Regions from separate parts of the Homo sapiens genome. Here region 1 is linked to region 2. The links are contacts of gene promoters, found by promoter capture Hi-C in blood cells and fetal thymus (Javierre and others, 2016). All regions are on one chromosome and are shown on one strand. The core of a region is centred on a gene start or on the middle of the fragment in contact, and the rest is flanking DNA. Distances in the headings are between cores, read along the strand shown. Region 1 holds the start of MDP1 (magnesium dependent phosphatase 1). Region 2 overlaps HNRNPC (heterogeneous nuclear ribonucleoprotein C).

Region 1 (3,131 bases), core at 272-2,771, 3.0 Mb before region 2:
CGGGCGCAGTGGCTCACGCCTGTAATCCCAGCACTTTGGGAGGCTGAAGGGGGTGGATCACCTGAGGTCAGGAGTTCGAGACCAGCCTGGCCAACATGGTGAAACCCCATCTTTACTAAAAATACAAAAATTAGCTGGGCGTGGTGGTGGGCGCTTGTAATCCCAGCTACTCAGGAGGCTGAAGCAGGAGAATTGCTTGAACCCAGGAGGTGGAAGTTGCAGTGAGCTGAGATCGTGCCACTGTACTCCAGCCTAGATGACAGAGCGAGACTCTGTCAAAAACAACAACAACAACAACAACAACAACAACAAAAAACTCCTAAGTCTTCTTTTTCTTTTTTTTCTGGCTTCCTTTTCCTGCAGGAATGATGAGAAGACAGCAGCTGATTACAAGATTTTAGGTGGTTCAGTCCTTCACCTGGTGTTGGCTCTGAGAGGAGGAGGTGGTCTTAGGCAGTGATGGACCCTCCATTTTACCTCTTTACCCTGTCGCTCATAATGAGGCATCATATATCCTCTCACTCTCTGGGACACCATAGCCACTGCCCCCTCCCCTGGATGCCCAGTAATGTATGTCTACTGGTGGGAGACTGTGAGGATCCCAGGATTCAGTATTCCTGGCCCAGAGGGCCCTTGCTGGCTACTGGGTGTTAGTTTGCAGTCCTGTGTGCTTCCCTCTCTTATGACTGTGTCCCTGGTTGTCAATAAAATATTTCCTGGCCTCCTGGAATCTTTCTTCTGTTGCACAAGTTGACTGAAATAAAAATGGACCTAATGCTCACTCAGTTATAGCAGGCTGAAGGAATCGGACAGTGGAAGGAATGGTGCTCTTACGGGGATTATCAGACTCTAGGAAAACCTACTTAGTGGTGTGTTGGAACCAGTTCCTAGTGGCTAATGAGAGCCAATTATTGGCACCTTTTTCCAACTCTATTAAGTGACTTCATGTTGGTAGCTTGAAATTGGCCATGGTAGGATTATTTACAGAAACTAGCAAACACTACAGATCAGTTCCTCCCCACAAACTGGTTGTTATACATCTACCAGTGTAGTGCTGACATGGATGGTGAAACCTTCGGAGAGTGAATTCTCTCTTGACTGTGGCTGTACTGGACATTTAGGCCTGGTTGGAGAACGCCTTCAAGGGTTTGGCTGACACTGTACTCTATGGCTGGAATATTACTGAGGACTTTGGGTTCTACACTGTCAGGAGGTTGATAATGCAGAAAGATTGAGTGACAAGCTGTGATGTATCACTTGGGTCTCAAGAAGAGGCAGGTGCTAGAAGAAAAGGCTTTCCTTCTTCCCTGGCTTCTTAGTATAATAGAATCGGGCAAGGCTGGGTGGAGTGGAGAAGTAGGGAGGATGCCCGTGGCCAATGCCTTAGAAAGACTTGACTGCTGTGGTTGCATGTGTGGTCGTGTTGGTACCTCGCTGCAATCCTCTTCCCCGCCCAGCATCAGATGGCACTCTTGCGCCATCTCCAGGCTGATGACGCCCCGAGTGGCGACGCTCTAGTCGCCATTTGTCTATGGCAGGCAGGGTGGCTGCCTTAGCTGCCGGAGGTTCCGCACTCTCTAAGGCCCCGGGTGAAGCCCCACCTCTGCTGCGCGCAGCCTGCGGTGCGGGTCATGGCGCGGCTACCGAAGCTGGCAGTCTTTGATTTGGGTGAGGGACGGGAAGGGGAGAATTTCGTAAGGTGCTCTCCTTTTCCACATCCCTAACAGCAGCTCCCGAATCCCTGCATCTCCCGCCCCAGGCTGAACCTTCCCTCTCCTTCCTCTCGCAGATTACACTCTCTGGCCTTTCTGGGTCGACACGCACGTAGACCCTCCGTTCCATAAGAGCAGGTGAGGTAGGGACAGGGAAGACTGGGGGCGAGATAGGACCCAGCCAGGGCTGAGCGCACTCTTGCCCTCTCCAGTGATGGAACTGTACGAGATAGGCGGGGCCAAGACGTCCGACTGTACCCAGAGGTGCCTGAGGTCCTAAAACGATTGCAGAGCCTTGGGGTGCCCGGTGCGGCTGCTTCAAGGTAAGAAGAGCGACTGACAACTGACAGTGTAATGCTGAAGGGTGCATGCAAGAGACAGTGAAACCCCTGGTCTACAAAAATAGGGGCGGTGCAAGTTTCCAAGTATTTACATATTTTTTCCCTTGAACGCTCTCCTGTGCCTTTTAACTATTAAAAAGTGGGGCCAGCAGGCGGGCGCGGTGGCTCACGTCTGTAATCCCAGCACTTTGGGAGGCCGAGGCGGGTGGATCACGAGATCGGGAGTTCAAGACCAGCCTGATCAACATGGTGAAACCCCGTCTCTACTAAAAATACAAAAATTAGCAGGGCGTGGTGGCACGCACCTGTAATCCTAGCTACTCGGGAGGCTGAGGCAGGAGAATCGCTTGAACCCGGGAGGCGGAGGTTGCAGTGAGCTGAGATGGAGCCACTGCACTTCAGCCTGGGTGACAGAGTGAGACAATGTCTCAAAAAAAAAAAAAAAAAAAAAAGTGGGGCCAGACACAGTGACTCACACCTGTAATCTTAGCATTTTGGGAGGCCTAGGTGGGAGGATCACTTGAGCCCAGGAATTTGAGACCAGCCTAGGCAATAGAGGGAGACCCTATCTCTACCAAAAAAAAAAAAAAAATTGTAGTGGCGTGCACCTGTAGTCCCAGCTACTTGGGAGGCTGAGGTGGGAGGATCACTTGAGCCCAGGAGGTCGTGACCACAGTGAGCCGTGATTGGGTCGCTGCACTCCAGTCTGGGCAACAGAGCTAGACCCTGTCTCAAAACAAAAGCTAAAACATTGGCCCAGCACCAATTGTGTCAAATAGGAAGGCAATGGAGTTAAACAGAGGCTGAGGATGCCTGTCCATCCCGGAAAAACAGCAAGTTGATTTCCCTGGTTATACTTACTAACTTTGCTTAATAAGTTAACGTAGCCCTGGCCCTTCACTTTGCTAATCCCATCTTTTACACCGTTTTGCAGGACAAGTGAGATAGAAGGGGCCAACCAGCTACTGGAGCTCTTTGACCTCTTCAGGTACTTTGTTCATCGGGAAATCTATCCAGGCAGCAAGATCACACACTTTGAGAGGTATGCGGAGATAAGGGAGGAGCAGGGTGAGAAAGT
Region 2 (3,285 bases), core at 499-2,998:
GCATATTGACATGAATTTAGTTAATTTTAGTCATCTATTGATGTTGAAGAATTGTGAAGACAGTCACTGGTAGAGGTGATTCTATGGAGGCTATCCCATCCCAGTGGAATGTTAATGCTTTACCAAAATGTGTTAGCTGCAGTAGACAGATGTTTCTGTCTTGGGGGTTTAGGGCACAACATTTCTGAGGAACTCTGACTCAATCTGTCCCTTCTCCTTTCACAGGGCAGCAAGGCGAACCCCATCCCTACTCACTGGAGCTCAGCTTTGATTTTTAACCTCCCTTCCCCACCCTTCCAGAACACACACATTCCATTCCAAAACTGATTTTATAAAGACATTTTAAACATAATGATGCAACTTGGTGTGCACTACAGCAAATGTACAGGTGTTTTTTTTTTAATTGTTTCCAAAACCGGGACCTGGATTTAAGATGTAATTTTTAAAATTTCTATTTCTATTTTTTCTGCAGCAGTTGGGTTAGAGGAGGAGGAGCCTTTTAGCCTCTCATAAACTGACCTCTCTACTTCCTCGTGTATTTTTAAGATTGATTGATGATGTGGAAAGGGCTTTGCTTGTCTGCTACTGAAAACTTTATCCTTGCGGTTTTTGTGGAAACTGCTTTTGGAAAGAGAAAAGAAATGAACTTTACTGACTTGACATTTTTGCACCTCCCGTTTTTCTAATCTGGGCTATTTTTATTTTTGTTTTTTTACAGTGAGATTTTTTTGATCTTCAGCTACAGTAAGTTATTCCAATTTTTTTTTAACATTTTTCCTGACTTTCCGCTGATTTCCTTTTTATTGTTGTTACTAGTTACTATTACTTATTATTATTATATTAATACTTATGATGGTGATGATGATGATGATAATGACACTGATGATTTTTAACCGGATTAAAATCGAGTTTTTCTGAATGTTTCTAAGAATTTCTCCGGCCTCCTGATTGACTTTGGAGTTTTGCATCTTGGGAGAGAAAGCGAAGGCATTAGTATTTTTAAGTGGTTTGATCACGTAAACCTTTTCTCTCCCAACCCCACCCTTGCCCTCATCCCCTTCCCCACACTGAAAAGAATTTTACTGGCTGTTAAGTCTATGACCTTATTTTTCCTGATCTTTAACTTAACTGTTTTAGAGCATCTCTGGACGTCTGTATTTTTAATTTTTTTTATTTTTGTTTTTTTATTTTTAATCTTTCATTTGTTAAATTTTTAAACTGTGCTGCAATAAAATGTGTGTGGTACTACTTAACACTTATGATCGTGATGGCATTTTCCCTGAAAGCCATCTTCCTCCTGTTTCCCTTGAAATCCCATCCTGCTTTTCCTGTACACTACCCCTCACAAACCACAAGCTGCAGCAACATGGATGCCCAGCCTGGAGCAGCAGCAGCCAGGATGACCTGGAGCCAGGGGGGCCTTCGGAACAGATGCACACCCTTCCTGGGTGATGGTAAGAGGTGTGAGGTCCACTTGGATTCATTACAAAGACTAGGAAATAAACCCGTTTAACAGTTTAGCTGATGTGTATAGGTCATAGCATCTGGAAGTGTTTGAAACTTTTGTGTGTGCATCTTGAGGTGTTTCCCAAGGGGGACCACCTCAGTTATTTGTAAACTAATGGAATAATATGAGTTGCTAATTAACTTGGGCTGATTAGAACATTTTGGATACTTGGAAAGAGCAGCTGAAGTTTAAAATGAAAGTGGCTTGTTTTAATGATTAGCAACAAGAAAACATATTGGGGAGTCCCTTTTTTTAGATTGTTACAAATCAGTAAACATTTTCTGTCATTTAACATATTCCTTGGGTTTGTGACATTTTTGGATTATATTCTATTTAGACTTTTTATCTCATTAATATTTCACAAGAGTCAAACCATAGGAGATACAACATAATATTAAAATGCTGTCTCACTGGAGGGCTTTTAAAAATTTGAAAAAAGGTAGGCTTTTTGACCTCACAAAGCAGGGAAATCTGTTTAACCTCTACATCCAAATTAGGAACTGTCTAAGGCTGACCCCTTTTACAGTGGTGACTCAAGACCCAGCTAGATTTTGGGAATTCTAATGTGAATTCATAGAGTTCTAATGCTAGATTAGGAACTCTAATGTGTTCTGATGTTAAGAAGGAGTGTATTCTGTGTTATTCACAGGAATGGTGTAGAGATTAGTAAAGATGTGGATAGCCAAAGAGAAGTTGAGCAACCCGTAGTATTTTACTCACTGCAGCAAAATGTTTTGATAACCATTTTAGAGTTGCTCTGATAGGTTTCAAGCTGGGAGATAATTAGATTTTATTTTAAAATATTTCTATTTTTTGTAGAGACAGGGTCTCGCTATGTTGTCTAGGCTGGTCTTGAACTCCTGGGCTCAAGCGATCCTCCTGCCTTGACACCCCCAAAGTGTTGACATTACAGGCATGAGCCACTGCACCTAACCTGGAATAATTTTTTGAAGGCATATTCGGTACTGTTGTACTAGGGTAAATCACAAACTTGCCCCCTTATACCATACTCGGATGAAAAGTGAAATCTAGTTAAAGTGAACACCAGAGGTACACTCAAAACAGAATGGGAGAAAAAGCAAAAGATTCCTGGAAGTTATCTAGAAAAAGAATGGGAATCTTTATTTTTTAAATAAGTGCAAGTTTTATTGATGCTCTCTATTGTATGAGAGCTATTTTTTCTTCTTTGCTGCTGTCAGTGTACGGAAGCTGTTCACTATAGGTTCAGTTTGATTTATTCCTTGTTAATTCTACAAATTTATTATTTTTATGGGACATGTTGTGTTTGGGGATATAAAAAATAGTTTATTATGTTTAAGGGCTTCGCAGCTTAGTGAGGGAGACACATGAATGAAATAATGTCCATATATGATGAGAGGTAAACACATATCCTATAGAAGCATGCCAAAATAAGCTGGGGGCGTTGGTACCTGCCTGTAAGCCTGTAGTCACAACTAATTGGAAGGCTGAGGCAGGAGGGTCCCTTGGCCCAGGATTTGAGAGACTGTAGTGTGTGATGTGATTATCCACTGCACTCCAGGCTGGGCAACATAATGAGACCCCATCTTTTTTTTTTTTTTTTTTTTTGAGACAGTCTCGCTCTGTTTCCCAGGCTGGAGTGCAGTGGTGCCATCTTGGGTCACTGCAACCTCCACCTCCCGGGTTCAAGCGATTCTCCTGCCTCAGCCTCCCGAGTAGCTGAGACTACAGGCACGGACCACCATGCACGGCTAATTTCTGTATTTTTAGTAGTGACGAGGTTTCACCATGTTGGCCAG

The links. The method cuts DNA at HindIII sites, captures the fragments that hold promoters and counts their contacts. A CHiCAGO score of 5 or more calls a contact.
Region 1: a contact is called between the fragment with the promoter of MDP1 here and a fragment that was not itself captured in region 2, in 1 of 17 cell types (non-activated CD4 T cells). The highest score is 6.5, in non-activated CD4 T cells.

What each region holds. Positions count from the first base shown.
Region 1 is chr14:24,214,456-24,217,586 of GRCh38, reverse strand. It overlaps MDP1 (magnesium dependent phosphatase 1), which reads left to right and starts at 1,521. Exons shown (of 6, transcript NM_138476.4): 1 at 1,521-1,668; 2 at 1,790-1,850; 3 at 1,925-2,035; 4 at 2,988-3,095. The coding sequence starts at 1,632. NEDD8-MDP1 (NEDD8-MDP1 readthrough) reads left to right here. Exons shown (of 7, transcript NM_001199823.3): 4 at 1,925-2,035; 5 at 2,988-3,095. It overlaps NEDD8 (NEDD8 ubiquitin like modifier), which reads left to right. Exons shown (of 4, transcript NM_006156.3): 4 at 364-730. The coding sequence ends at 460. RefSeq lists enhancers at 1,475-1,644, 2,057-2,795. The HindIII fragment of the contact is 6,893 bases long and covers 1-3,131 here.
Region 2 is chr14:21,260,770-21,264,054 of GRCh38, reverse strand. HNRNPC (heterogeneous nuclear ribonucleoprotein C) reads left to right here. Exons shown (of 9, transcript NM_004500.4): 2 at 719-744. Among named protein-coding and RNA genes, the nearest start is that of HNRNPC, 7.0 kb to the left of the region's middle. The HindIII fragment of the contact is 6,125 bases long and covers 1-3,285 here.